7 separate regions of the Homo sapiens genome follow, and all the other regions are linked to region 1. Evidence: promoter capture Hi-C in 16 types of primary human blood cells and fetal thymus (Javierre and others, 2016). All regions are on one chromosome and are shown on one strand. Each heading gives the region's core, a stretch centred on a gene start or on the middle of the fragment in contact. The rest is flanking DNA. Distances are from core to core; before and after follow the strand shown. Region 1 holds the start of RFK (riboflavin kinase). Region 2 overlaps NMRK1 (nicotinamide riboside kinase 1). Region 3 overlaps OSTF1 (osteoclast stimulating factor 1). Region 4 overlaps OSTF1 (osteoclast stimulating factor 1). Region 5 overlaps OSTF1 (osteoclast stimulating factor 1). Region 6 has its middle 85 kb from the start of OSTF1. Region 7 has its middle 100 kb from the start of OSTF1.

What was found. Contacts are between HindIII fragments. The CHiCAGO score rates a contact against its expected background, and 5 or more counts as called.
Region 2: a contact is called between a fragment that was not itself captured here and the fragment with the promoter of RFK in region 1, in 1 of 17 cell types (non-activated CD4 T cells). The highest score is 5.7, in non-activated CD4 T cells.
Region 3: a contact is called between a fragment that was not itself captured here and the fragment with the promoter of RFK in region 1, in 7 of 17 cell types (activated CD4 T cells, non-activated CD4 T cells, naive CD8 T cells and 4 more). The highest score is 9.1, in activated CD4 T cells.
Region 4: a contact is called between a fragment that was not itself captured here and the fragment with the promoter of RFK in region 1, in 2 of 17 cell types (monocytes and M0 macrophages). The highest score is 5.9, in monocytes.
Region 5: a contact is called between a fragment that was not itself captured here and the fragment with the promoter of RFK in region 1, in 2 of 17 cell types (non-activated CD4 T cells and activated CD4 T cells). The highest score is 6.2, in non-activated CD4 T cells.
Region 6: a contact is called between a fragment that was not itself captured here and the fragment with the promoter of RFK in region 1, in 1 of 17 cell types (naive CD8 T cells). The highest score is 5.3, in naive CD8 T cells.
Region 7: a contact is called between a fragment that was not itself captured here and the fragment with the promoter of RFK in region 1, in 2 of 17 cell types (total CD8 T cells and activated CD4 T cells). The highest score is 7.1, in total CD8 T cells.

The regions. Positions count from the first base shown.
Region 1 is chr9:76,392,481-76,396,118 of GRCh38, reverse strand. RFK (riboflavin kinase) reads left to right here and starts at 1,693. Exons shown (of 4, transcript NM_018339.6): 1 at 1,693-2,029; 2 at 3,550-3,638. The coding sequence starts at 1,948. It also overlaps a transcript of GCNT1 not described here. RefSeq lists enhancers at 1,035-1,274, 1,452-1,746, 1,609-2,422 and silencers at 1,555-1,614, 1,635-1,714, 1,755-2,244. The HindIII fragment of the contact is 5,359 bases long and covers 1-2,610 here.
Region 2 is chr9:75,065,585-75,069,222 of GRCh38, reverse strand. It overlaps NMRK1 (nicotinamide riboside kinase 1), which reads left to right. Exons shown (of 9, transcript NM_017881.3): 7 at 121-227; 8 at 2,383-2,466. Among named protein-coding and RNA genes, the nearest start is that of NMRK1, 21 kb to the left of the region's middle. The HindIII fragment of the contact is 1,185 bases long and covers 801-1,985 here.
Region 3 is chr9:75,092,074-75,095,711 of GRCh38, reverse strand. All of the region lies in intron 1 of OSTF1 (osteoclast stimulating factor 1), which reads right to left. Among named protein-coding and RNA genes, the nearest start is that of OSTF1, 5.4 kb to the right of the region's middle. The HindIII fragment of the contact is 1,544 bases long and covers 1,617-3,160 here.
Region 4 is chr9:75,108,074-75,111,711 of GRCh38, reverse strand. The region is part of intron 1 of OSTF1 (osteoclast stimulating factor 1); the gene reads right to left. Among named protein-coding and RNA genes, the nearest start is that of OSTF1, 21 kb to the right of the region's middle. The HindIII fragment of the contact is 3,922 bases long and covers 15-3,638 here.
Region 5 is chr9:75,137,361-75,140,998 of GRCh38, reverse strand. It overlaps OSTF1 (osteoclast stimulating factor 1), which reads right to left. Exons shown (of 10, transcript NM_012383.5): 8 at 3,383-3,461; 9 at 67-165. Among named protein-coding and RNA genes, the nearest start is that of OSTF1, 51 kb to the right of the region's middle. The HindIII fragment of the contact is 2,818 bases long and covers 352-3,169 here.
Region 6 is chr9:75,171,798-75,175,435 of GRCh38, reverse strand. No RefSeq gene overlaps it. Among named protein-coding and RNA genes, the nearest start is that of OSTF1, 85 kb to the right of the region's middle. The HindIII fragment of the contact is 3,156 bases long and covers 194-3,349 here.
Region 7 is chr9:75,191,234-75,194,871 of GRCh38, reverse strand. No RefSeq gene overlaps it. Among named protein-coding and RNA genes, the nearest start is that of OSTF1, 100 kb to the right of the region's middle. The HindIII fragment of the contact is 3,842 bases long and covers 1-3,638 here.

The sequences.
Region 1 (3,638 bases), core at 444-2,943:
AAGACCCAGGGATGATTTATCAAGTTCTCACCTCCAGGCTTTTCTTATTAGGTGTATCACTGCTGATGAAGTTAAAAATATACCATTCTTGCATATTGACTATTTTGAATTAAAAGCACTTGAAAAACAATAGATACAAAAAAATCATTCTGACCTCTTTTCTGTTTCTTAGAAGCAGATGAAATTACCATATGAGAGACATCCTCCCTATATTAGAAGGAATGCAGCACTCTTATTAAGGACGGGAGTCAAGAGTGAGAGAATCCTGTACACACCTTGCTAAAATAACTCTTAAGCCTCTCCAGATAACTTAATTGCTTTTCACAACTTGCTATTACTACTCTTACTACCGGTATTACTATTATCGTTATTCTCATTATTCTTTGTTTAATTCCGTATAGATAAGTAACTGACCATAATTGCTTCTTTGGGTCCTTCTCTCCCTTCCCTTCCCTTTTCTTCCCTTTCACTTTCCCTTCCCCTTTCCTTTCCCTTCCCTCCCTTCCTTCTTCTTCTCTAGTTCTTTTAAGGGGTGAGGGTGTCTCACTGTGTCGCCCAGTCTGGAGTGCAGTGGCGTTATCATAGCTCAGTGCAGCCTCGACCTCCTGGGCTCAATCAATCCTCCCGCGTCGGCCTCTCAAACTACTGGGAATACAGGCGTGAGCCACCAAGCCTGGCCTAGAACATAAATTTAATATCAGGTAAATCTTATCAGAGATGCATACATGTAAGGTAGAAAGAGACTACACGGTCTGCACAGAATTTTATACAAATGTATAGAGCAAAAAAGAAAAAAATTAAACTTCTCTGGATTCCATTGATTAAAAATTTAAAAAAATAAATAAAAAACTTCTTTGTCTTCGAGACGTTAAGAGGATGCACCTTCTTATAACCTTGCACCCTGCATATCCTGTGAGTGAGCCCAGAGCTACTTCCCTAGGAGCGTGCGTATTTACAGTTCCGAGGGTACGAAGGCCTCTATCTGCATTGCAGTAGAGGGACGGCCTGTTATCGGGCTTGTGAAATTGTCAAGAAGACAGCCTGGAGGGGACAGTCACCGCCCATGTCGGTAACCTTCCACTAGTCTCTGGGGTTAACAGCGTCACAGACAGGGACTTCTCCCTTGGAGCTTACATTCGAATATATTAATAACTCCAGAACGTGGTCAGTGGTCCTGGAGGACGACCGCTTCTGGTAGGGCGGCCAGGAAAAGCCTCTGTGAAGAGGCGATCTTTGAGCTGAATTTTGGAGCTTTAATAAATACTTAAAGAGCGAACGGAACGAGCGATGCCTGACGTTCAACCCAGCGGTTGCCAAGGAGCTAAAGAGCGTCTCACTTTGGCTTCCGGATTGTTATGAACAGGAGGAAGGAGAAAAAAAAACCAGAATTGTTCGAGAATTGTGCTTTCGCGGCTCTCAGGCTGAAAACGGGGTTTCCACATTAGTTCCCATCGCCAGGGGCTGAAACGAAGCCCGGGATCCAGACATTAGGCGCCTGGGGCGGGAGCCTGCAGCGGGAGCTTGCGGCGGGAGCCGGGCGAGGCAGCGGCGGGGCGGGGCCATGATGGGGCGGGGCTACGGAAGCCGAGCGGGCTCGAGGCGTTCGGCTGAGGAAGGGAGCGCACGCCGGCGGCGCGGAGGCCGGCTCTGCGCTTCGGGCCGCCCCCTCCCCCCACCCCGCTCACACCCGGCACTTACTTCGGCTGTCTCCGCTGCCCTCCAGCGGAGACGCAGCTCCTCAGGCGCCCGGCGGTATTTGTTGGGTCGGCGGCGTCAGGGATTCGCAGTGGCCTGTGGTCGGCGTCGTCCGGCCACTGGTGCGCCCCCGCGGCAGGCAGAGCTCACGCTCCTGTCCCCCGGCTGGTCCGGGGTCTGGGCGCCGCGTCGACGGCGGCTCCGCAGGACGCGCAGACCGGGCCGCAGCCCATTCCCCGAGCGGACTGCATTATGAGGCACCTGCCTTACTTCTGCCGGGGTCAAGTGGTGCGGGGCTTCGGCCGCGGCTCCAAGCAGCTGGGCATCCCCACAGGTGAGAGCAGGGCGGCCAGAGTCCCCCGGGCCGGGTCACGTGGGGAGCGGGGAGAGACGGCAGCCGGGGACTTGGGACCGGGGCGTGGGGCCTCCGGACCGCGGGCAGAGAGCACACCCTTCCTCCTCCCGCATCCCCTTGTCTGTGGCGGAGGACCGTTGGCTCGGTTGAGGGAGCTTGTCCCTGCTTCTGGCTCCGAGCTCCGCGGGGACGGGGTTGAGGGGTGGTGAGGGCCGGAAGCCCGAGATGAATCGCAGGATTCCCCGTTCACGCCTCCTTGGCCAGCCAAGGTACAGTTGGTCAAGCATTGCGCTTGTCTTGCCCATTAGAGACGTAACGTGGGCCAGAACGGCTGAACTCGCAAGCCGGGTCTAAGGTGGTTTTGTTTTTAATTTGTAATTATGTAATGTCCAAATGATAACATAGGTAGTTGAATGAGAGTCAGCTAACCTTCTTGGTCTGTCTACATTAATTTCAATAATCGAGACCTGACTGTAATTCATCCTTAGAAATACATGCCAGAGCTGCGTCTTGACTTGTTAAGTCAGCCTTGAGCTTGTGTATTTGAAAAATAAGAAGCTTTGGCCGGGCGTGGTGGCTCACGCCTGTAATCCCAGCACTTTGGGAGGCCGAGGCGGGCGGATCATCTGAGCTCAGGAGTTCGAGATCAGCCTGGCCAACATGGTAAAACCCCGTCTCTGCTAAAAATACAAAAATTAGCTGGGCATGGTGGCGCGTGCCTGTCATCCCAGCTACTCGGGAACCTGAGGCAGGAGAATCGCTTGAACCCAGGAGACGGAGGCTGCAGTGAGGCGAGATCGTGCCACTGCCCTCCAGCCTGGGCGACAGAGTGAGACACCGTCTCAAAAAAAAAAAAAAAAGAAAGAAACTTTTCAGGTGATTCAGTACCTGGTTAGGAAAGAACAGATCTGAAAAAATCCATCTACTCTGGTACTTGTTTTTTGCATCCTACTCAAAGAGTATGGATTTTTTTGGAGAGCTTTATATACTTACCTGGTACTTTATTCATAACCTATTCACATGAATAGGAGAGGGAAATCTGAGCCGGAAAATGGAAGGATGGGATTGATACTTACAGGCAAAGTTGTAGGAGTCTTGTGAATGTAATGATTTACATTAGCCTTGCATGTGATTTTTACAAATGTTTGTTTCTTATTATTATTTTGAGACAGAATCTGGCTCTGCCACTCAGGCTGGAGTGCAGTGGTAGTGCGATCATAGCTTACTGCAGCCTCCATCTGCTGGGCTCAACTGACCCTCCTGCCTCAGCCTCTCTGGTAGCTTAGACTATAGGTGCAGGCCACCATCCCCAGCTAATTTTTTAATAGAGGTAAGATCTCACTATGTTACCCGGGCCGGTCTCAAACCCCAGAGCTCAACATGAGCCTCCTGCCTTGGCCTCTCAAAGTCCTAGAATTACAGACATGAGCCACTGCACTCGGCTACAGGCATTTAATACGAAATTTGTAAGACTCAAAATATTTTCTTCTGTTGTTTAGCTAATTTTCCTGAGCAAGTGGTAGATAATCTTCCAGCTGATATATCCACTGGTATTTACTATGGTTGGGCCAGTGTTGGAAGTGGAGAT
Region 2 (3,638 bases), core at 144-2,643, 1.3 Mb after region 1:
TAGTCCTAATCCTGTTTAGATTCAGCCTCTGAGTGATTTCCCCATTATCCTGACCATTCATATTTTACTTTATCAATTGTGTGTTTCTGTCAACATAAAGTTTCCTACGTGTTTTGATAGTACAAGGGTCTATCAGCCTCCAGACTCTCCGGGATACTTTGATGGCCATGTGTGGCCCATGTATCTAAAGTACAGACAAGAAATGCAGGACATCACATGGGAAGTTGGTAAGTGCCTTTTCTCCTTCTGTTCAAGGCCTTTTACTTGTCATTTGCCTCAAAGTATAGAAAAGAAAGGACTCATAGAAAAGTATAAAGGGATGCTTAAGCAAGAACACTCTGGGCTTCTCCTTTTCCATAGCTGGTTCTCCTGGTTTCTGTTTCTCTCTGTGGCTCTTGTCAGCTTCTGGATGGTTATTCATTCAACCAGTATTGAATGAATGCCTTCCAGTGCTGCCCTGGAGATGGTGAGGGGAATGAGGCAGACCCAGCCCCTGCTCTTATGCAGGTAACATTCTATCATGGAAACAGGTGCTAGAGATACCAGCGGCCCAAGCCTGTCCTTTCCAGCTGCTGTAAGTTCTGCGACACCAAGTTCTAGGGGACTGCCGAGATCCCGGTAGTCAGGAAAGGCTTCCTTGAGGAAGTCACATTTAACCAAACTTCAATGAGTTTAACTGAACAAAGGAGATGGGTTGGGGAGATAGAAGATTACCCCAGAAAGTGGGTGTGGCACACGAAAGGGCCAGGGGACAGGAAGGAATGAGAAACCCCTGAAAGAAAGCTGGTGTTGAGAAAGCTTTCTAGTAAAGAAAACCAGGGGAGTGGATTGATGCTAGTGATACAGGCAGGGTCCAGACCCTATAAGGCCAATAATCTAGGTAAGGACTTTGATCATTGTTCTCAGAGAAGTAAGAAGCTCTCTAGAGAGAAGTTTTAAACAAGGGCATGATTGATAAAAATTCTTGTTTTAGTTAAGACCCCTCTGGCTGTGTGGAGAATGGAGGAGGATAGATTTATAGGGTGTGATGTTGGACGCCCGCACTCAGTAGAACTGGGTGATAGAACAGCTATGGAGGGGGCGGGAAGATGACAGATGCCTCAGCAACTGACAGATGTTAGAAAAAAGTGAAGGCATTGCAGACCTGTAAGGGAGGAATGCATGTCTCTTTTGCACATAATGAGGTTGAGGTGCCTGGGAGACATATGTAGCAATTTGGAGGTAAGCATCCGGATCTGTGGGCTTGAGCTAAGAACAGATCACTGGAATAGGGCACTCAATGCAGGGAAGATGGCAGAAGGCTGTTGGATAAGGCAAAGGAGTTAGAACTGATGTATGCTTTTCACAATAAAGGGGACTTGTCTGTGTTGTGAGAAGCCTGTTGGCCTCCAGGATAGGCAGCTATGTCAGAGCCATGTGGAATGCACACAGAGTGTACCCCCAGGGCCAATGCTGAGATTCTGGCTGCACCACGTCCAACTTGGACCATTGGTTGCAAGAACATCCTCTTGCTTCCCTTCTCTCCCTTTTACCTAAAATGCAAATCTAATCAGGCTCCTGCTCTGCTGAATACCTTGAGTCATCTCCAGATCTTTGAGATACAATCCAAACAGCCAGACATCAAGGCCTCTAACGACTGAGGTACTGAGGTACACCCTTGCTCTAAAATCTCATCTCACGCTGTTCCTGGAGCTTCCCCATATTCTAGCCATTCCAAAGGGTGCATCAGTGCTCTTGCCTCTCCCTACTCATGCTGTTTTCTGACCAGAAGGCCCTTTCCTTCCTTTAACCTAGACAACTTCTACTTTTTCTCCAAAGCTGCTTATGCCAGTTTTATTAAAAATACGTCTTTTCTCTGATAGCAGAAAACACACACACACACACACAAACATACACACACACACAATACATATTTTCTGAGCCTGGTGAATTCTGAGTTTGTACATATGTTGCAGATCCCAGACCACTGCATTGTTTAAGAAGCTTCCCAGGTGATCCTGATGTATAAGTATGTTGAAGAATTACTCCTTAAGTGACCCTTTTGGGTGAACACCTTCAGTGCACCTAAAGTGCCGTATGCACAACACCACTTTCTTTCTTCTGTTTCTTTCCTCCTTTCTTCTTTCTTTCTCTTCTCTTTTAATTAAATAATTTTCACATAAGCCAGTGTGGATTTATCTGTAACAATCCAATATTTTTGACCTATTATAGCTGGCTAGCATCTATTTCTTTCTTTAATCACTATTAATTTCCTTTTAAGTTATGGTCCTGGGTGCCTTGGTTAAACCTATTGGCATTTACAAGAGATGTTGGGTGTCAAAGTAAACATTGTATATTAATAAGCCTGTTAGCATTTGAACTGCTCTCTTTTCCCCTTCGTAGTGTACCTGGATGGAACAAAATCTGAAGAGGACCTCTTTTTGCAAGTATATGAAGATCTAATACAAGAACTAGCAAAGCAAAAGTGTAAGTATTGTGCTAACAAAGTGGATGGTAGAGGAGAAACAGCCAGGAAAATCATTCATTACATATGAAAGAATGGAATACCAGAATGCTAGTGTAGGAGTGATTGTGCTCATCCATTCTTTGCTTTGAGGATAATTCAGAATCAGAAATTCTGGGGGGGGGTTTGGAGACTCAATTATTTTGTCTGTTTTTAGGGGTAAAACCATGTACCCTTTGTTACATCTCTTAATGCTATTTATGTGATTTACTTTAAAACTTTTAGTAGATGGCTGTACCAAATGGGACTGGAAGTATCCTTTGGGCACAGTATAATTAAAATGCTGATGATTTTTTTTAGTATGTCCAGAGCTCCCCTTTTCTTTTATTCCCTTAAAGACTTTCTGTAAAATTTCTACTTTCCAAATACCTCAAAGATAAACAAAAGATTTTAAAAAGTATTATGAAGTGTTTGTTTAAGGTTTTCATATTGGACGGCACTGTTTGCAAGTGACAGGGATCTGCCTAAATATGGCTACAGCAGAAAGACAGTACAGGGGTAATGGTGGCTTCAGGCTCAGCTGGATTAACTCATTTATGCCTAGTGTTCCATTGTTGGAACTCTAAGCTTGTAGGAGTTATTTATATCCTACTGCTGAAGGTCATCACCAAGGTCTCGTTTTTCACAAAAATAATTTGCAACCTCCAACATTAATGGGTTAAGGAACTCAAATAAGGTCCTCAGGACTCTGCTTCTATTCTACTTTCTATTTAGGGTTTATTTTGAAGTCAGGCTCTCCACTGACCTGATGTCTGTTGACAACAACATCCTCCTAGGTCCATCAGTCCCAGGGTAAAAAGATATCTTTTTCAAGATTTGACAACGAGTTGATAAATGTTGGAGCTGGATATTGAGTACAAGGAGGTTCATATTTATTCTCACTTCTTTTGCATAAATTTGAAATTCTTTATTTTAAATAGTTTTCTAAAAAGCAATGTTCTGTTGTAGCCCAGATGATTGGTCCTGCTGGATCACATGACTTGCCAAACCAATCACTATGGCCAGGGAGATGGCATACTCTGATTGGCCAGGCCTACATCACATAACCCATCTTGTAATTGAATACCCCACCTAACACCTTCTGATTTTAAAAATTTCTCTGGCCAGTTGCAATGGCTCACGTTTATAATCCCAG
Region 3 (3,638 bases), core at 1,139-3,638, 1.3 Mb after region 1:
TTCACAAACTGTTACACTGGGTAAACGGCCTTCCCTTTATTCAGAGAAAATTATCTGGTTCACAGTTCTCTGTGCACATACCAAATTTCCTTGACTTCTCTGAAAGAAGCTTAGCCCTTATTTAGTTAGACAAATGTGGACAGGAGGATGCATTATTTCATTTCTGCCTGAATCAAATGACTTTTCCCCCTTTGCTGCCCAGCAAACTCTTACTCAGCATTGGGAACTCTGCTTAGATTACTCCTCTTCCGTAACATCTTCTCAGCTGCCTCAAGCTCCTTGCCCCATGCTTCCCAGCCCTCTGATCACACTTTGATAACATCTCCTATCACAAGCACTGAGATTTTTCTGTTTAAGACATGCTCATACATTTTTGGTAGGGAAGTAAACTGGTATGACCTCTTTGAAAAGCGATTTGGAAATTTCTATGAAAACAGCAGTGCACTTACCCTCTGAAACAACAAATCCCACTGCCAGGACTTTATCCTATGGATTTACGTGTGTAAGCAACAACAATACTATTGGGAGACTATTTGTTATAACAAAAGATTGAAAACAATCCAGAAGTACGTTAATTAGGGTCTGGTTAAATGAGCTCAGCAGAATACTATGTAGTTATTTAAAAGAACCAGGAAGTTCTCCTGGTTCTAATATTTGTGTTGTATTGTTTGTTTGTTTATTTGAGACAGGGTCTCGCTCTGTCACCCAGGCTGGAGTGCAGTGGCACGATCTTGGCCTCCCAGGCTCAAGTGATCCTCCCACCTCAGTCTCCTAAGTAGCAGGGACTACAAACACGCACCACCAAGCCCAGCTAATTTTTTCATATTTGTTGTACAGAAAAGGTTTCACCATGTTGCCCAGGCTGGTCTCAAACTCCTAGGCTCAAGCAATCTGCCTGCCTGGGCCTCCCAAAGTGCCAGGATTACAGGTGTGAACCACTGTGCCTGGCCTGTACATTTTTCTGAAACTCCTTTAATTTGATAAGAGAATCTTGACACCTCACTCATATCAGCCCACTGAAAGGTGTCCCTGTATCATTTTTTTTTTAATGTAGTCTTTCCCTGTCCATTAAGCAAGTGAGGACAACTTTGGCAATGGGTTCTGTTATGCCCTGAGGTATAAGGTGTGTATTAGAAAATCTCACTGCACTAGTCACGTAAGTCAAATTGTGGGAATGCTGAAACGCCAAGGGAGGGGACCCCAGTATTTCCAGAAGGGAGGAATGCTTATCAGAAGCACATAACCTCCAGCCTTTGCTACTTTGTAGTAAAGCTACAAGAAAAGCCCAATCACAGTCTCTGAGTCCACCCCCACCTTCTTTCAGGGAAAAAAAAAAAAACCCACCTTTTTTTTGTATCAAAGCGTTTTACATTATCTGTCATTCATAACGATTTAGTGGCTGTGCAGTTACAAAGAAATAAAAGACTGTTCCACTCTCAAAAAGTGCATAGTTTAATGCTCTAATACGGATCCATTGAAAGAGGGCAGTTACACAAACCAAATACCAATAATACAACTGCATAAGCTAATAAAATGACTGTCCAACAAAAGCAGGTCCAACCCAATAACATCTCTGGCAGGTTTCTCTGCTCATATGCATGGACTCAATTAAAGCTTCTGTTCCACTTCCAGGTCACACCAACCACTCACTAGCTTTGAGATCTTAGATAGTTTACTTGACCTCATTAAGTACTACTTCATCCATAAAACAGGGATATGAGGACCCACCCACCTGATAGGAAAGTCAGAATAATTAAAGGAGACAGAGCATACACAGTGCTGGGTGCAGTGCCTGACATATGGGGCCAAATATATGTTAACCATTCCCATCATCATCATCATTGTGAAATTTTCAAGATGTTTCTCAGGCTTTATTCTGCCAACAGGTATAAAAAGTATCAAGTTTATAAAAGAAGACTATTCACGTGCATATTTCACCTCACTTTTGATTAATTCCTTTGTTGGGGTAAAAAATACATAAAAATTAAGTTCATTTTAGATAAAAACCTTTTTTTCTCAAAAATGTTATTTAAGCAGCATGCGTGTGATGTCTTTTAAGTTTTATGATGTTTTTACTCTGAATAACAAAAAAACCTGAAACACTGACATTTGCTTCTTCAAAGTTCCATGAATTTATTTTCACAAGGCACATGAAATATTTATGCTTTACTTTCACCACCAAAATCAATAAGCCATTTGGAAAAAATGGCCAAGGTCAGACACCAGGTTTCCAACTACAATAGATAGTTACCAAACCTGCTTAGAATGAGATGATTCTACAGCCCAAATCTCATTCAGTATCCTTTGGCCCATTCTTACTCTCAGAATAAAATATTTTTAAAAAGATTTTACAAGAACAAAAGTTCTGTTTTCTACACTTCTACACTCTAACAAGCCAGACAGATTCACGCTAATTGAACTGCAAGGCTTCTGAGAGTGGCTGAAAACAACATAAATGCTATATGTGTAAAACTAAGAGGTTGTACTCATTCAGAAAAAGGAAAGGAGGGTCTCAGCCAGGTTTGGTGGTGAGCATCTATAATTCCAGATACTCTGGAAGCTCAGGAAGGAAGAAGACTGCTTGAGCACAGGAGAGCAAGACCAGCCTGGTCAACATAGCAAAATCCCATCTCCAAAAAAAAAAAAAGAAAGAAAGAAAGAGAGAGAGAGAAAGAAAGAAAGAAAGAGGGTATCATAAAGAATGAGCTGAAGACCACGAAATTGCAACACATCTTAGTAGAGTACCATGGTGGCACAGATAACAGTTAAGGGAGAAAGTTTCAATGACAGACCTTGTGTGGCCAAAAGTGATTCTACAGAAACAAAATCAGTAAGCAAGGAAAGGTCAAACTGCGACAGAATTGATTTTTCAAGCAGAATGCAGGCAATACCGTATAGCCTTTTGGAAACATATGCCAACCAACAGCAAGACTTTTCAAACGGAAGCTGAGACGCTGTTCTGAGGGTAATTGTTTTTATTTTCTTTTTTGAAATGAAATGGATGTGAAGAAGAAAGAAACCTGAAAGAATATTCAACCAAATGTAAATAGTGATTATCAGTAGATGACAGGGATGATTCCTATATTTTAGTTATATATTTATTGTTTACCTTTTTCTAAATTTTCTAAAAATAAAAAAATTATATTTTTACTTACAAGCTTTTTTAAAAAAAACAAAATGAATGAGATCAGCCATCCACTTGTAAATATGGGATACTCTAGGTAATATCTGTAGATACATACGTCTTCCCCATTAGACTCAGGACCCTCGTGAATGACACCATAGATTATTGTTCCTGGGAACCCCAGTGTCTAGCACAGGGCCTAATATATGAGCTACATTTATTAAGAAACATTTGTTTAGCAAATGAATTCTGGATATGGCCAAAAACCCAAACAAGGTAACCCTGATCTATCCTCCAGATGGTACAAAAATGGCCAGGGTCTCCCACTAGCATCTGCCCGGGACTTCCCTGGGCAGCCTCCTTCCACAAATCGGCCCCCTGTTGGGGATGTGCTGATCAGCCAGAAAGATGCTATTAGCCTGCATTATAGCTTAATGTCCCTTGTTTTTAATATCTTCCAGCAAGTCCTTTGTCCTTACTCACCTAGCTCCTTTCCTTTTAGTATTGTCTACTG
Region 4 (3,638 bases), core at 726-3,225, 1.3 Mb after region 1:
GGCTCCCTCAAGCTTGATCATTGTCTCATCAAAGTCTAGTGACATATAACAAAGAGGAAAAATGGAGCTCAGAAGACTATATAAATAACCTGAAATTACCCTGGAATTCAACTGAGTTAAGGTTAAAACGAGGCCCAATCTTTTGTCTGAGGCTTTAGGTGAACCTTGCATGAACCTGCACGTATTAGCACTAAGGATCTAAGCAGGGCTGGTCTCTTCACGTAAGCAAGATCAGCACAGCAGCAGCAGCGGTGCACCTGCTGGCTCACTTCACTGGCTCCTCACCTTGCCAGTCCCACCCTTCTCTGTTCTGTCCAACCCCACCCAGTCCCTGAAGAGAAGGGTGAGTCCATTAGTCATCAGCCAAACACTGTATTTTCCTCTGGAGTTGGGATGACCCTAGACTTCCATAAATGAATCCCTGTTCATAGTGGTAGAGGCAGGGCAAAGGCAGAGAGAAGGGTTCTGCAACAGGATATTCTACAGGCAAAGGGTAACTAGGTGAAATTTCTGCTCTAAGTTATGCAAACAGAGTATGTGTCAGCTCATTTTTGAGGCCCTGAAACAGCACTTAGGCGGGCCTGGGGCTTACAAATTTGAGCAAAGAATTTCTAATCTATTTTATTTCCTGTTGGTGAAAAACTGGAGAAGCCTCTAAAGAAAGCCACTCAGATATCATTAAAAAGGGATTGGGGCCGGGCACGGTGGCTCACACCTGTAATCCCAGCACTTTGGGAGGCCAAAGTGGAGGACTGCTTGAGCCCAAGAGTTCAAGACCAGCATGGGCAACACAATGAGACCCCAGCTCTACAAAAAAAATTTAAAAATTAGCCAGGTGTGGTTGCGGTTGGTACACACCCATAGTCCCAGCTATTCAGGAGGCTGAAGTGGGAGGACTACTTGAACCCAGGAGGTCAAGGCTGCAGTGAGCCATGACTGCACCACTGCACTCCAGCCTGGATGACAGAGTGAAATCTTGTCTCAAAAAAAAAAAAAGAAAGAAACTGCTCACTATAAGAGACAGATACACAGATATACGATAAACAGCAAGAGGAATGACTATTTAAAATATCAGCCCCTGGCCATCTGTAATAGATAGACTATTTCACTTATGTCTTTTTAAGAATGTTAAGAAGTGTGAGACACTTAGATGGGCTTCACTTACAATGGCTATGATAACTACTACATACTCACTCTGATGGCTAAAGTGAAAAATACTGACAATGGGATAAATCAACTGTGGTGTATTCAGACAATGGGATATTATTCAGCACTAAAGAGAAATGAGCTATCAAGCCATGAAAAGACATGGAGGAAACTAAAATGCGTATTACTAAGTGAAAAGTCAACATGAAAAGGCTATGTACTACATGATTCCAACTATATGACATTCTGGAAAAGGCAAAACTATGGAAACAGTAAAAAGATCAGTGGTTGTCAAGGGTTGGGGGAGGTACAGTTGAAAAGGCAGTGTACAGTGGATGTTTAGGGCAGTGAAACGACTCTGTATGATACTCTAATGGTTTATTAGAGTATCACTGCCATTACGCATTTGTCCAAACCCATGGAAACCACATCAACAAGAGCAAACCCTAACATAAACTATGGATTCTGGATGATGATGATGCATTGATGCATCAATGAAGATTCATCAATTCTAACAAATGTCTTTTTAAGAATGCTGTATCTGGTGAGGGATGTTGATAATGGAGGGGCTACACATGTGTGGCAGCAGGGGTATATGAGAAATCTCTGTACCTTCCACTCAATTTTGCTGTAAAACTAAAACTGCTCTAAAAAAAATAGTCTATTAATTTAAAAACAATACCAGCATTGCTAAGCATTATAGAACAAATAGAATTCCCAGATACTGCTAGTGGGAGCATAAATTAGTACAGCCACTATAGAAAATTGTTTGGTGGTAGCATTAATTCATTGTTACTAGTCTTAACATGCCTTGAGACCTTAAGTTGCATTTTTGGGAGTGGAACATAACTAGAAATCCCTTCCGGTCATCTTCCGTAGGAAGAAAATATTGCATACAAAAATAACCCCTCCTCACTGTTTCACTAATCCCAGAACACAGTGAGTCACCTCAACACTTTTAAACTGAAGGTCATGACCTATTAGTAGATTGAGAAACTAATTTAGTTGACTTTAAGAAAATTAAATGGGTCAGAAAGACCAGTGTACACTATACATAATAGAAGAAATTACAGTTTTGTGAAATTTTGTCTTATTGGGCATGGACAGGTAGATGGATATTTAATTAATAAATTTACCAAATACACATTTTTTGGCCTAATGCCAAATGACCAAATGCTAAAATTAATATTTGCCAAAGCCAAATGTGGCTTTAACAGAATGAACTACTGGGATACAAGAATAAATCTGAAACCTGGCCGGGCATGGCGGCTCATGCCTGTAATCCCAGCACTTTGGGAGGTGGAGGCGGGCAGATCACTTGAGATCAGGAGTTGGAGAACAGCTGGCCGACACGGTGAAACCTCATCTCTACTAAAAATACAAAAACTAGCCGGGCGTGTTGGCGGGCACCTGTAATCCCAGCTAGTTGGGAGGCTGAGGCAGGAGAATCTCTTGAACACAGCAGGTGGAGGCTGCAGTGAGCCAAGATTGCACTCTAGCCTGGGCAAGAGAGTGAGACTCCACCCAAAAAAAAAAAAAAAAGAATAAACCTGAGATTTTATCCAAAAAAATAATTAAAATTACACTCTTATTACTAAAATTCCGGTAGACTCACTTTAAAAGTTTGATATAAAAGGGCAGAAATGGTAATTCCTTGGTACTGTTAACTGCAGCCTGATGGGACTTCTGTAAAACTAAACAAATCCTCTCTCTAAAACAAGGTCTGTAGAAAAAGCAAGATGTTCTTGCGCTAGCTCTGCCAGAGTCACTGCTGCCGGAAGTGACGCTGCCAGCACATTAGTAAGCTATCCTTCCTCCCTGATAGGAACCAACTGAGGTCAAGACTTAATCTCTTCATCTCCTGGGCCTGAATATTTGCTTAATGATGATGATATAATGTCACTGAAAGTAGTCCCACAAAGAATACAATGGATTCCCCAGAATTACTAGCAATCACACTCTCTCAACATTAATTCTCAATCTATGCCTGTAATTTTTACTCTTTATATAATAATTTTCATACTTAAAATTCGGACTCATTATCATCATTAATTATTAAAATAATTTACTCCTCCAACAATGAATAATCATTTATACATTCAACTGAGAGAATTTCAATATATTAATATTGAAAATTTTCTTGGGGAAAAATTGAAGAAAATGATTTCAGTCCTAGGAATTAAAAAAAAAAGTTACCCTGGTCATGCCACCTCCACAAAAGGCAAATCAGAAAGGCACACATTGTAACTGTTACATTTAGAGAAATTACTTGTTTCCAAAGCAAATTTTTTCTTTTTCTTTTTTCTTTGATTAATTAATTAATTTATTTATTTATTTATTTGAGAGACAGGGTCTCACTGTCACCCAGGTTGGAGTACAGTGGTGCAATCATAGCTCACTGCAGCTTCAACCTCTCAGGCTCAAGAGATCCTCCTGCCTCAGCCTCCTAAGTAGCTGGGATTACAGGTATGCACCACCACACCCAGCTCATT
Region 5 (3,638 bases), core at 511-3,010, 1.3 Mb after region 1:
CCATTCTAAGTTAATAAATCTTAGTTATGGGGCACCAGAGGAGAAAGAAGAATTTAAAACAAATACCTGTTCCCTGTTTCTTTTTCAGGAGAGATGCACAGGCAGCATTGGTAGCCATGTCGAAGGCCAGCTTCTTCTCAATGTTTCTTAAGTCTGTTCTAGCACCTTCCCAACACAAGAAAAGTCAATTAGGTGTCTTTGAAGACTATATAGTAGTAGCCAATCCTCTCTCCCCACAGCTAACAACTTTTGGCAAAATAAACTAGTGAACAACTCTGGCTCAGAAGTAAACGTTCTCAAAACAATAAACTTTCTCATGCAGTATAATTTGGCATCTTTAATCGGGAAGCTTGTTGCTGCACCTGTGATAACAATTAATTCCGAACCTTTTGAGTCCCTATAGAATTGCATGTGAACTTTTCAGTGAGGAGTTTATGGTCCCTGTGGGGCTTGACTTCAATGAGCCCTTTGCTTCCTCTTTTGCTCAAGAGGGTCTTTAGAAAAGACCAAGTGGATAGTGCTTGAGGGGATTAATATTTTATATCTGTAAGTCTGCTCTCATGCAAATTAACAGAATAGCAACACGTAAAACCAAGAGGCAATTCATTATTCCCATAAGCCATCTTCTACCCACTTTTCCTTTGCCTTTATTGTGTTCAAAATTACATCAGAATTCATGAATACATTTGCATTGTTAAGGATTCAAAAATACAAATGTATGCTGAACAAAAGCACAAGTCCCATTTCATTCCTTCATCTTCTACCTACGCCTAAGGTAACCATTCTTAACAAGTGGGTGTGAGTTCTTATCTCCCTTATTTGCATCAGTGCATTCATACACATATTGATATAGACACAAAATCGTACTACACGTATTGGTCTGTGATTTCATGTTTTTAAAACTTTAATGTCTAATGGTACTGTTTTCTTAGCAAATACACATATTTGTAACTCAACCATTTAAGTATTCCATTTTGTGGTGCTCCAAAATTTAATTACTCCTGTATTGACGGGCACTTAGGCTACTCCTAATTTTCATTATCACAAATACTCCAGTGAACATCCTTGAACAACATCTTTGTTCACACGTATTTCTGAAGAATGGTTTACTAAAAATGGTATTGGAAAGTCAGGCTAAGTCCATTTTAAATTCTGACAGCTACTGTCAGATTGCTTTTCATACTAGTCTCTAATGATCCTCTGAATTTCTGTGGTATCAGTTGTAATACCTCCTTTTTCATCTCTGATTTTAAGATTGCTTTCCAAGAAGGCTTTAGGCCAAGCACGGTGGCTCACGCCTGTAATCCTGGCACTTTAGGAGGCCAAGGCGGGCAGATCATTTGAGGTCAGGAGTTCAAGACCAGCCTGACCAACATGGCCCATCTCTACTAAAAATACAAAAATTAGCCAAGTGTGGTGGCGCATGCCTGTAATCCCAGCTACTTGGGAGACTGAGGCATGAGAATCACTTGAATCCAGGAGGCGGAGACTGCAATGAGCCAAGATTGCGCCACTGCACTCCAACCTGGGCAATAGAGCCAGACAGTCTCAAAGAAAACCAAAAAAACAAAAAAAGAAGGCTTTGTCAGTTCATACTTTCTGCCACAGTGTAGGAAAGTATCATATTTTTTTTGCAACCACTTCCCCTTCAATAAACAAAAATAGGCCAGCACAGTAGCTCATCCGCCTGTAATCCCAGCACTTTGGGAGGCTGAGGCAGGCGGATCGCTTGTGTTCAGGAGTTTAAGACCAGACTGGGTAACATGGCGAAACTCCATCTCTACAAAAATTAGCCATGTGTGGTGGTGCACGTTTGTAATTTCAGCTATTCAGGAGGCTGAGGTGGGAGAATCACTTGAGCCCTGGAGGCGGAGGTTGCAATGAGCCGAGATCATGCCACTGCATTCCAGCCTGGGCAATAGAGACCCAGTTTCAAAAAAAAAAGAAAGAAAGAAAGAAAGAAAGAAAGAAGTGTCCCCAAATTTAAAGGCAAAGAAATATTGCATCAAGAAAAAAAATAGTATGTTTAATTAGTAATATAATGATCTTGTGTCAAAATCTTTCTCCTAAGCAGATCATTCTATTCACAGTAGGGTTATATAAAACCTCATTCTCTCAGTGTGCTACAGATCAAAAACTCCTGAGGGTTAACAGTTCTGTGACTAATCATATACTATATTATACTTTAGAGCTCATAGACATGATTTCTATCAGAACAGGAAATATTCAGAGACAGTGATGATAAAGAAGAAACACAACTATTTCCTGGGTCCCTTTAGATGAGCACTAATAGGAATATAATGTGATCCACATATATAATTTTTAATTTTCTAACAGCCACATTTGCAAAATGTGAAATTATTTTTAATTATATATTTTATTTAACCCAGCATATCTGAAATATTATCATTTCAACACATAACCAACATGAAAATTACTGTGATGTTTTACTTTTTGTTTCACTAAGTCTTTGAAATCTGGTATGCATTTTACACTTACAGCACATCTCAATTCAGATAGCCCCATTTAAAGGGCTCAGTTGTGCACGTGGCTAGTGGCTGCCATATTAGGCATCAAAGTCATCAGTATACCCTTTACAGGGCACTAGAGTGATCCTCATAATGTCTGGCCTTTTAGACCTGCAGCTTACATCACCAGCATACTTAAAATCTAAACCATTTCCTATCATATATCCCACAATATTGCTCTGAGGATCCCTAATGAGGGTAATTCCATGACAAGTGTCTTGGGGACTCAAGCATCCTACATGATAGGCTTCTGGACTAGAGTATGGTATAGGTGATCTGCCTGGCCTTCTCTAAGAGTAAACTAATATTTGTGGGACAAAAGGATAAAGGGATAGTCAGTTTATAAATTCACTGTTTCCTCTGACTTATAAAAACAGGGGATCAAGATATCCTCTCTCGTTCACTTTACATCTAGCACCTGCTCAGCTCAAAGCAGGACATTGCAGCCGCATCATTCTTGCTTATCTGTCAAGACTTCCCTGTGAGAACAGGGGCCTCAGCAACTTTACCTATACAGCTTTCTCAGACAGGATCTCCCCAACACACGTGTACACATACATTCTTTGTTTCTAAGGCTCTATAATCCTGCAGAAACATACAATACAGTTCTTACTAAAAGTAATATATGTAATGTTAAAGCTTGCCATGGTTTTAGTTTATATTAAAAACTAACACAAACCAACCCCCAATAATTTTATTTTATCATAACTATTCCATGATACACAGGCAGAGCAAAGGTTAAACCCTATTTTGAAATAAGACTATTATTCTTCCTACCATTTCAAATGGCGTAAGTTGATATAGACTATTTTTCAGGGCAAGCAAAGACCAGATAAACTCAGCACAAACTTTACCTTTTGCCAGAAGCAACTGGACGATATCTGCATAACCCTTCCAGGCAGCAGCATGCAAAGCTGTATCTCCCAACTTGTTCTATAGTGATAAAAAGAGAAAGTACCATTTTTAAGATAGAGGGTGGATTGAAAGTACATGTTAATTCAGGTTTAACCCAGTTAAACCTAAAAGTTAAACCTAAAATGGGAACAAAGTTATAGAACCACATAAAATTCCAAAGAGAAAAGGAAAGGAGACTCAAGAGATGGGAGAGGA
Region 6 (3,638 bases), core at 522-3,021, 1.2 Mb after region 1:
TGATGCGTGTCGCAAAAGCCAGGTAGGAGAATTAAACTCTACCTGTAATTGGGTAGCGGGGTAAAAAATGTGTGGCCATCTTAAATCCACCACTTATGTAAGTGTTTTACATAGTAACTAACCACCGTACTCTGTGAGCTAGTACAATCATTGGAGATATTACTGAATAGAACATAGAACAAAAGATAAAGCTTTTGTTTCCTAAAATCAGCATAGGAGCATAAAGTAGGTATATATTTTGATATCCTGATAGAACTTTTGTCATCTTTATTAACTCTATATTTCTTCAAGGAATGTTTTCCCTGGTTTCTTCAATAATTATAACCACCATAAGTGCTAATGATAGCTTTTCAGAGGTATATGAATTCTAGTTTTGCTATTCTAGCTTTGTTGAAACATTTTTTAAATAATAACTTGTCTCTCTATTGCTCAAGAAGTCCGTTATGAAGCATTCCCAATACCAGTTGTCGCTAGCAACAGCTATCAGGCAAAGGGTGGGAAAGAGCTTTCTCAAATATTAAGTTAAACCCTTTCTTCTCTTCCCAGCCCCTACCCAGCACTCTCTACTTCCATAGGATAAAGTTAAATGACTGGTGATCCAAGTACCTGAGAGAGGCGGCGTGTCCAGCCTTGAGAGATGAGGTGTAACCCAGATTATCTTCTGGTCACAGTTTTTGAAATGAAGGACAGAAGATGTAGGCTGACTTTCAAAATTGTCTTCAAATATCTAAAGGGCTGTCATCTCGAAAAGGCAGATTTAATTCCAAAGTAACAAAAAAAATCTTGGAGGAGTGTATGAAAGTCTTGGTACAATAAAACTACACATTCTCTTTCTCTTAGAGCTAATTAAAAATGTAATGAGGTGCCTCAGGAAGTAGCATTTTTCCATTCCCTGGAGGGGTAGGTAGCAGCAGGGTCTGGATAACTATTTTGTGGAGATGTTACAGAAGGATTCCCACAACTATCGGTCAGGGACAGGTTGTTTACATGATGTCCAAGTGTCCTTTGGACGGTATATAATTTACAGTCCAAATAAAATTCACTTCTTGTTTTCATGCCTTCTTTTACAATCTATGTATGTAAAATCCTTTAGTATGTGATATATTAACCATTCCTTCCCAGGTATGGAATGGCTTTGAGGTTCAAGAGACCCATGCGGCAGAATTTTGGAGATGAATAATAATTACTGAAGAATGGCTTACAGATCCTGCAGACTTGTGTTAAGGCAAAAAGTCCAACATGCCATACAAATGGAGATATACAGGAATTGGATATAATAAGGTGTGGCATCTATTGGTTTGGGGGCATAGGAAAGTCAGTGCACAAAGTACAGTGTTGGAAAGCAGAAGGAAAGTAAGCCTGGTAGGAACCTTGAGCGTAGTAGCATTTATTCACCATGATTAGGTAAGAGATCACTGGGATTATTGGGATTAAATATTGGGATAGTTATGGGCATGGTTGTACTATTAGGCTGGAGAAGGGCTTCAGTCACTAAGGAAGAGGCTGTCACAAAACTAAAGACTACTATCTCCACATAGATCATTCTCACAGGGAAAGTGTTTCATCTTTACCAGAAGAATAATTAGAAAATTATGAGCTCACCAATGACCTTGATATTGCCAAATACAGTTACCATCCTCTGGGCTAATCTTACTATTTCTTTCAGCAACTTTTCACACAAGTTTTCATTCCCGTCTTTTTTTTTTTTTTTTTTTTTTTTTTTAAGATGGAGTCTCACTCTGTCGCCCAGGCTGGAGTGCAGTAGTGTGATCTCAGTTCACTGCAACCTCCGTCTCCCAGGTGTAAGTGATTCTCCTGCCTCAGCTTCCCAAGCAGCTGGAAATATAGGCCTGCGCCACCATGCCTGGCTAATTTTTGTATTTTTAGTAGAGATGGGGTTTTGCCGTGTTGGCCAGACTTGTCTTGAACTCCTGACTTCAGGTGATCCACCCACCTTAGCCTCCCAAAGTGCTGGGATTACAGGTATGAGCCACTGTACCCGGCCACATTCCTCTTTCTTTCTTTAAACATTTTCCTCTCTTGGTTTCAGTGGTTCTACACTGTTCCTGCTCCCTCCTCTTTGTCAGTTTACTCCACCCACATTCCCTTTGCTGGCCCTTCTTGACATCTGTTGTAAAGACTGGGAGTCCTCAAGCCCCATAATAACTATTCTCTTCTCATATCATTAAACACCATCTATGCCACCCATACACTGATCACCCCCGCCAATGTCTATCTTGAGGCCAGACCACACCTAACAGCTCAACGTATATATAGGTTATATACCTAACTGCCTACTTGACATCTCTACTTGTGTATTTCACACCCTTAAACTCAAGATGTAGAAAATACATTGTTTGATTTTGCCCTTTGCCCACACTATTCCTCATACCCCCTCCCCTCCAAATCTGTTACTCTCTAACTCTTCCCTATACCAGTAAATGGTGCATCACCATAGACTCAGTTATTTAGTCAGACACCCAAGAATTTTCCTTGACGTCTACTTCTCCCTCACTCTACCATATCCAATCTATATTAACAAGTTCTGTGAGTCCATGAACAAAATATATCTAGAATCCATCCACTACCCATTTTTTCATAGCCACAACCCTAGTACCAGCTACAGCAGACCTTGTAATGGTCTTCCTAACAGCTCTCCCCATACCTGCCTTGAAGACCTTCAATCTACTCTCCATCCAGCAAATGCCATAGCTCTTTCAAAAAGTAATTTGTTTATCTAACATGTGTTTCCATTTCTCCCCATCCCAGCCCCAAATGGCTCAAAAAGAAAAAGGCTTACAGAATTTTTACTGGACTGTAGGAACAGGTGAGGTATCAGTTCTTACAATTTCTAAGATGCAATCTTTCAGTTCTCGTTAATTCTTTTTTTTCTATTACTCTTTTCCTTTTCATGTGTCAATAAAATGCCTAGGAAATATATCCTCATCTGCCAAAGGAGTCCACTTTTTGACATGTGTGCTAGCCAAACTAGCCCCATAGTGGTCTTTTTAAAGGATAAATCAATTCAAGTGAATCTTAAAACTTAAAACTTTCTATGACTTCCCTTTGAACTTAAAAATAAAATCTAACTCTTTACTGGAACTTATAAGATCTCACAGCAATGCTTCTCAAACTATCTATGGTAAAGAACCAGCTTGTTTTTCTTTTTTTTTTTTTCTTTTCAATTTTCAATTCCTCTCTGATGGATACTTTTATAAGATAAAATAAAAATGAATTACTAGAAAAAATGAAACCAGAAATAAGACATCAAAATATAAGTCCAATTTTTTCATTAGATTGAAGAGCTATCAAACCACTATGTCAAATCATTTAAAAGGCTTTACAAGCTTATTTTCAATTTCTGTATTTATCCCATCATCAAGGATTGACACTGACCTGGATTATTTGGCTTCAGCTTACCTCTCTAACTTTGTCCTAGAAAGTCTTTCCCTCCTTCACTCTGTTCCAGCCCTACTTTCTATATCTTAAACAAAGCAAGGTTTTTCTAGCTTCAAGGCATGTTCCTTCCCCTGGATCTGGAAGCTTCAAAATCCCATATGCCTTACCTGGAGAGTTCCTTCTCATCCAGTCTGTCAACTGAAGAATCATGAGTTTCATAAATTTGAAAAAGAGAGCTT
Region 7 (3,638 bases), core at 670-3,169, 1.2 Mb after region 1:
CAAAATGGTTTCTTTTGTTTATTTGTAAAGTGGCTTGAGAGCAACTATAAATACATTTTGACATCAGGCAAATTCCAGGAAAGTTATCTCTGTGTATGTAATATTGGTTGTCATTATGGTGATTTGGAGAAAATAATACTCCGTACATAATTATAACCAAATGATCCATATTGACCCAAAGCCTTACTGAACTATTGTTGAGATAGAAATATCTGGACTGTAGTAAGAGTCTTGGAAGTGCTAATTCTCACCCTCTCCCTCTACCTCCCACTTTTTCTCTGCCTCTGTAATCATCCAAATGCAAAAAGCCCTAAATCAACACTTGGCAAAATCCTCCTAACATTATTTTGAGACGTTTCTGTTTACTTGTGAGTTTTAATTCCTCTGCAAGGAGTTCTTCCCTGCTCTCAAATCCCGAAATGTACTAGAGGATTCTATCACTCTCCTCCTCCCTCCAAATCCCAGAACTTGGCCCATCGAAGACCCATAACCTTACCTTCCCTCTGATTCTCTTCTGCTCCTCCCAAGTCCAGGCAGACATTATCCAGTATTTATGTGGGAGAACTGGCTCTAACTGTTCATGTGGTTTTCCAAACTTTGTGTTTGCCTGGTCTTAACTTCAAAAATACAAAAGTTAAAAATTACTTTTCTTTTACCTGCAATCTGCTCTGTGTCAGCCCATCTCTACGGTATAAAGATAAATTTCATACTATATCAGACTGACGAAGAGATACAAAACCTATAGGGAGGGAATTTTAGTTTATATCTCAAAATATTATCTTGCCACTTAAGCAAATAAAAGAGAGAGATAGAAAGGAGGAGGAAGGAAAGAAAGAGGAAGGAAGGAAGGGAGGGAGGGAGGAAAGTCATCAGATTTAATTTAAAAATTAGATTACCCCCATCATCTAACAACACAATCACTGGGAACAATTTTGGTATATATCTTTTCAATTTATTATCTATATATCCATCTATATATTTCTACTATGTCTATCTTTTGCTACCTGTAGGTTGCAATCTGCTTTATTGAATTTAATAATTCACTTCTCTCATGCTTGACAGCATTACTCAATTCTGAAAAGCCTTTCTAAATATAAAAAAAGTAAATTTAAATTTTTTCTTTAATTTTTAACGAAAAAATTTATGACACTTTTTTATCTTAACCTACCTTACCCAAACAATTTTCACATTGCTAACTAAGCAATAAAAACAAGTTTATACAAACAGCAGACAACAGTATCCCAAAGTATCTGAATATGGTTTGTATATTGACTAAAATATAATAAAGATCTATTGTACTCACAAAATGAGGACAAATAGTCTTCGTAGTGGATGTTGGTTGGGGACAGTTGTGAGAAAGTCATTCTTTTGGAAGATGAATTTTCTATACACCATTTTCTTTACCAATTTTTCACATTTTCAGGGATTCATGATTATATTTGGCACTCAAATTAGAAATAATTGGACTTAGAAATAAAGTTAGATCACTGAAAGCTATCTATAGGGTAAAATAAAGGCTAAATCTTTGTATTAGTCTGTTTTCATACTGCTATAAAGAACTGCTCAAGACTGGGTAATTTATAAAGGAAAGAGGTTTAATTGACTCACAGTTCAGCAGGGCTGGGGAGGCCTCAGGAAACTTACAATCATGGTGGAAGGCACCTCTTCACAGGGCAGCAGGAGGGAGAATGAGTGCAAGCAGGGGAAATGCCAGACGCTTATAAAACCATCAGATGTCATGAGAACTTACTCACTATCACAAGAACAGCATGGGGAAACCGCCCCCATGATTTAATCACTTCCCACTGGGTCTCTTCCACGACATGTGGGGATTATGGGAACTAAAATTCAAGATGAGATTTGGGTGAGGACACAGCCAAACCATATCAGTTTTATAATTCTTAGCAAAGTATGGAAAGAGCACACAGAGACACTATGTCTTTACCCCACTGGATTGGTGAACCTACACAAAGCAAAGTATTTAGAATCACCTAATGTGGTGCCCAATTCTACTTGTTTCACATTATATTATTTGACTAGAAACTACTGTGTTGAGAAAATTGGTTTGGTTAACATGGTTATCCTAAAATCATTTGGTTAACATGGTTATCCTAAAAGCATAATGTTTAAACAATCTGGTTTGGTTAACATGGTTATCCTAAAACTATGTTTTAGGATATAATGTTTCATATCGCATATTTACTTAGTATTGCTTGGGTGAAAAATAGTTAAATTTTTTTAAACATTGTCTGAAAAGTTGTATAACTGTGAAATAGCCAATATGGCCAAAAATTGTTGAATGAACAGTCATTATATGAAGTAAATCTATCTATGGAAACATCATTTTATGCCAGTAAATATGATTCTACAGCAATATTTTAAATGGCTGCATAAATTCCATTACATAAATGTACCAAAATGTATTTAAACAATTCACAATTATTAGAAATTTAGTGATTTTTTTCCAGATTTCATTGTTGTAAACAATACTATGCATGATCCTTCTTGTGGTGAAGTCTCCTAAGAGGCTTTTCATATTAAAGTATTAGCCCTTTTATCCAAAGCTAGATCCCAATTCTTCTGATTCCCAAGTTAGTATTTTTCTCTCTACGCCAAATTGAGGAGACAGGGATCACACTAAATTTGCTGTACATAGATTGACACAACCACAGAAACAAACAAGCAAAGATTCCCATGAACACACACATATTAAAAGTAAAGGCAAAACTGCAATTACTTTTGTACCAACCTAATAGAAGTTTATGTTGATCGTTTGATTCAGAAGAATGCAATTCTCACTCCAGAGTAATTGACCAACGGTTTATTAAATAATATGCTTTTCAGAGGAATATAACCAAGAAAAAAATTTACTTCTTGTCCAAATTTGTCTTCATAGTTTAGTTTGGAAATCCCTTCTGAAAGACTCAATGCTTTAGGCTAGAGTTTCTTTAAGAGTTTTTCAACTTTCCTTGTTAACCAAGTAAGGGAAAACTGTGTTATGCTAGAAAAAAAAATGGCCTGGTTCCAATTCTTTTGCCTTTACCTTTGTTCCTTCATTGACTTGTAAAGGTAATTAATATGGAAAAACTCTGGTGATCCATATGGCCAGTGTTCTCCACTAATTAAGGTGTTAGTTCACATACATACACAGACACATACATGTGTTACCTGGGCAACTATACACAGAAGCAGAAATTAATTAACATGATGACAAATATAATTAAAGCAAGAACCTATGGCCTTAAAATGGTATTATCTGGTATCACCAAAAGAGTAAGACTGAATGTGTTTTCATTTACAGAGAAGTAAATGGCTTCAAATTCCTATTTCCAATTCAGTTATGACATTTTCCTGATGAAGCATACGTCCTGGCCAGAGTACTGTGTTATAAACAAGCAAATTTCCTGTAAATGTTACAAATCTATTTCAAATCTAACAGGTTCTCTTATTTCTCCAATAGCTCAGGTTAAAAATATATATATACAGCACATTAATATAATTTATCCATCTTGTTCAGGAAGAATAGAGAATTGGTAAGGTTAATTGATTTCCCATTTACTATTTCTGGTGTTGGTTTCCATGAAAAAAAAAAGATGTGTTTGGATGTCAGCAAATCAATAACTATTTCATTTTCCTTC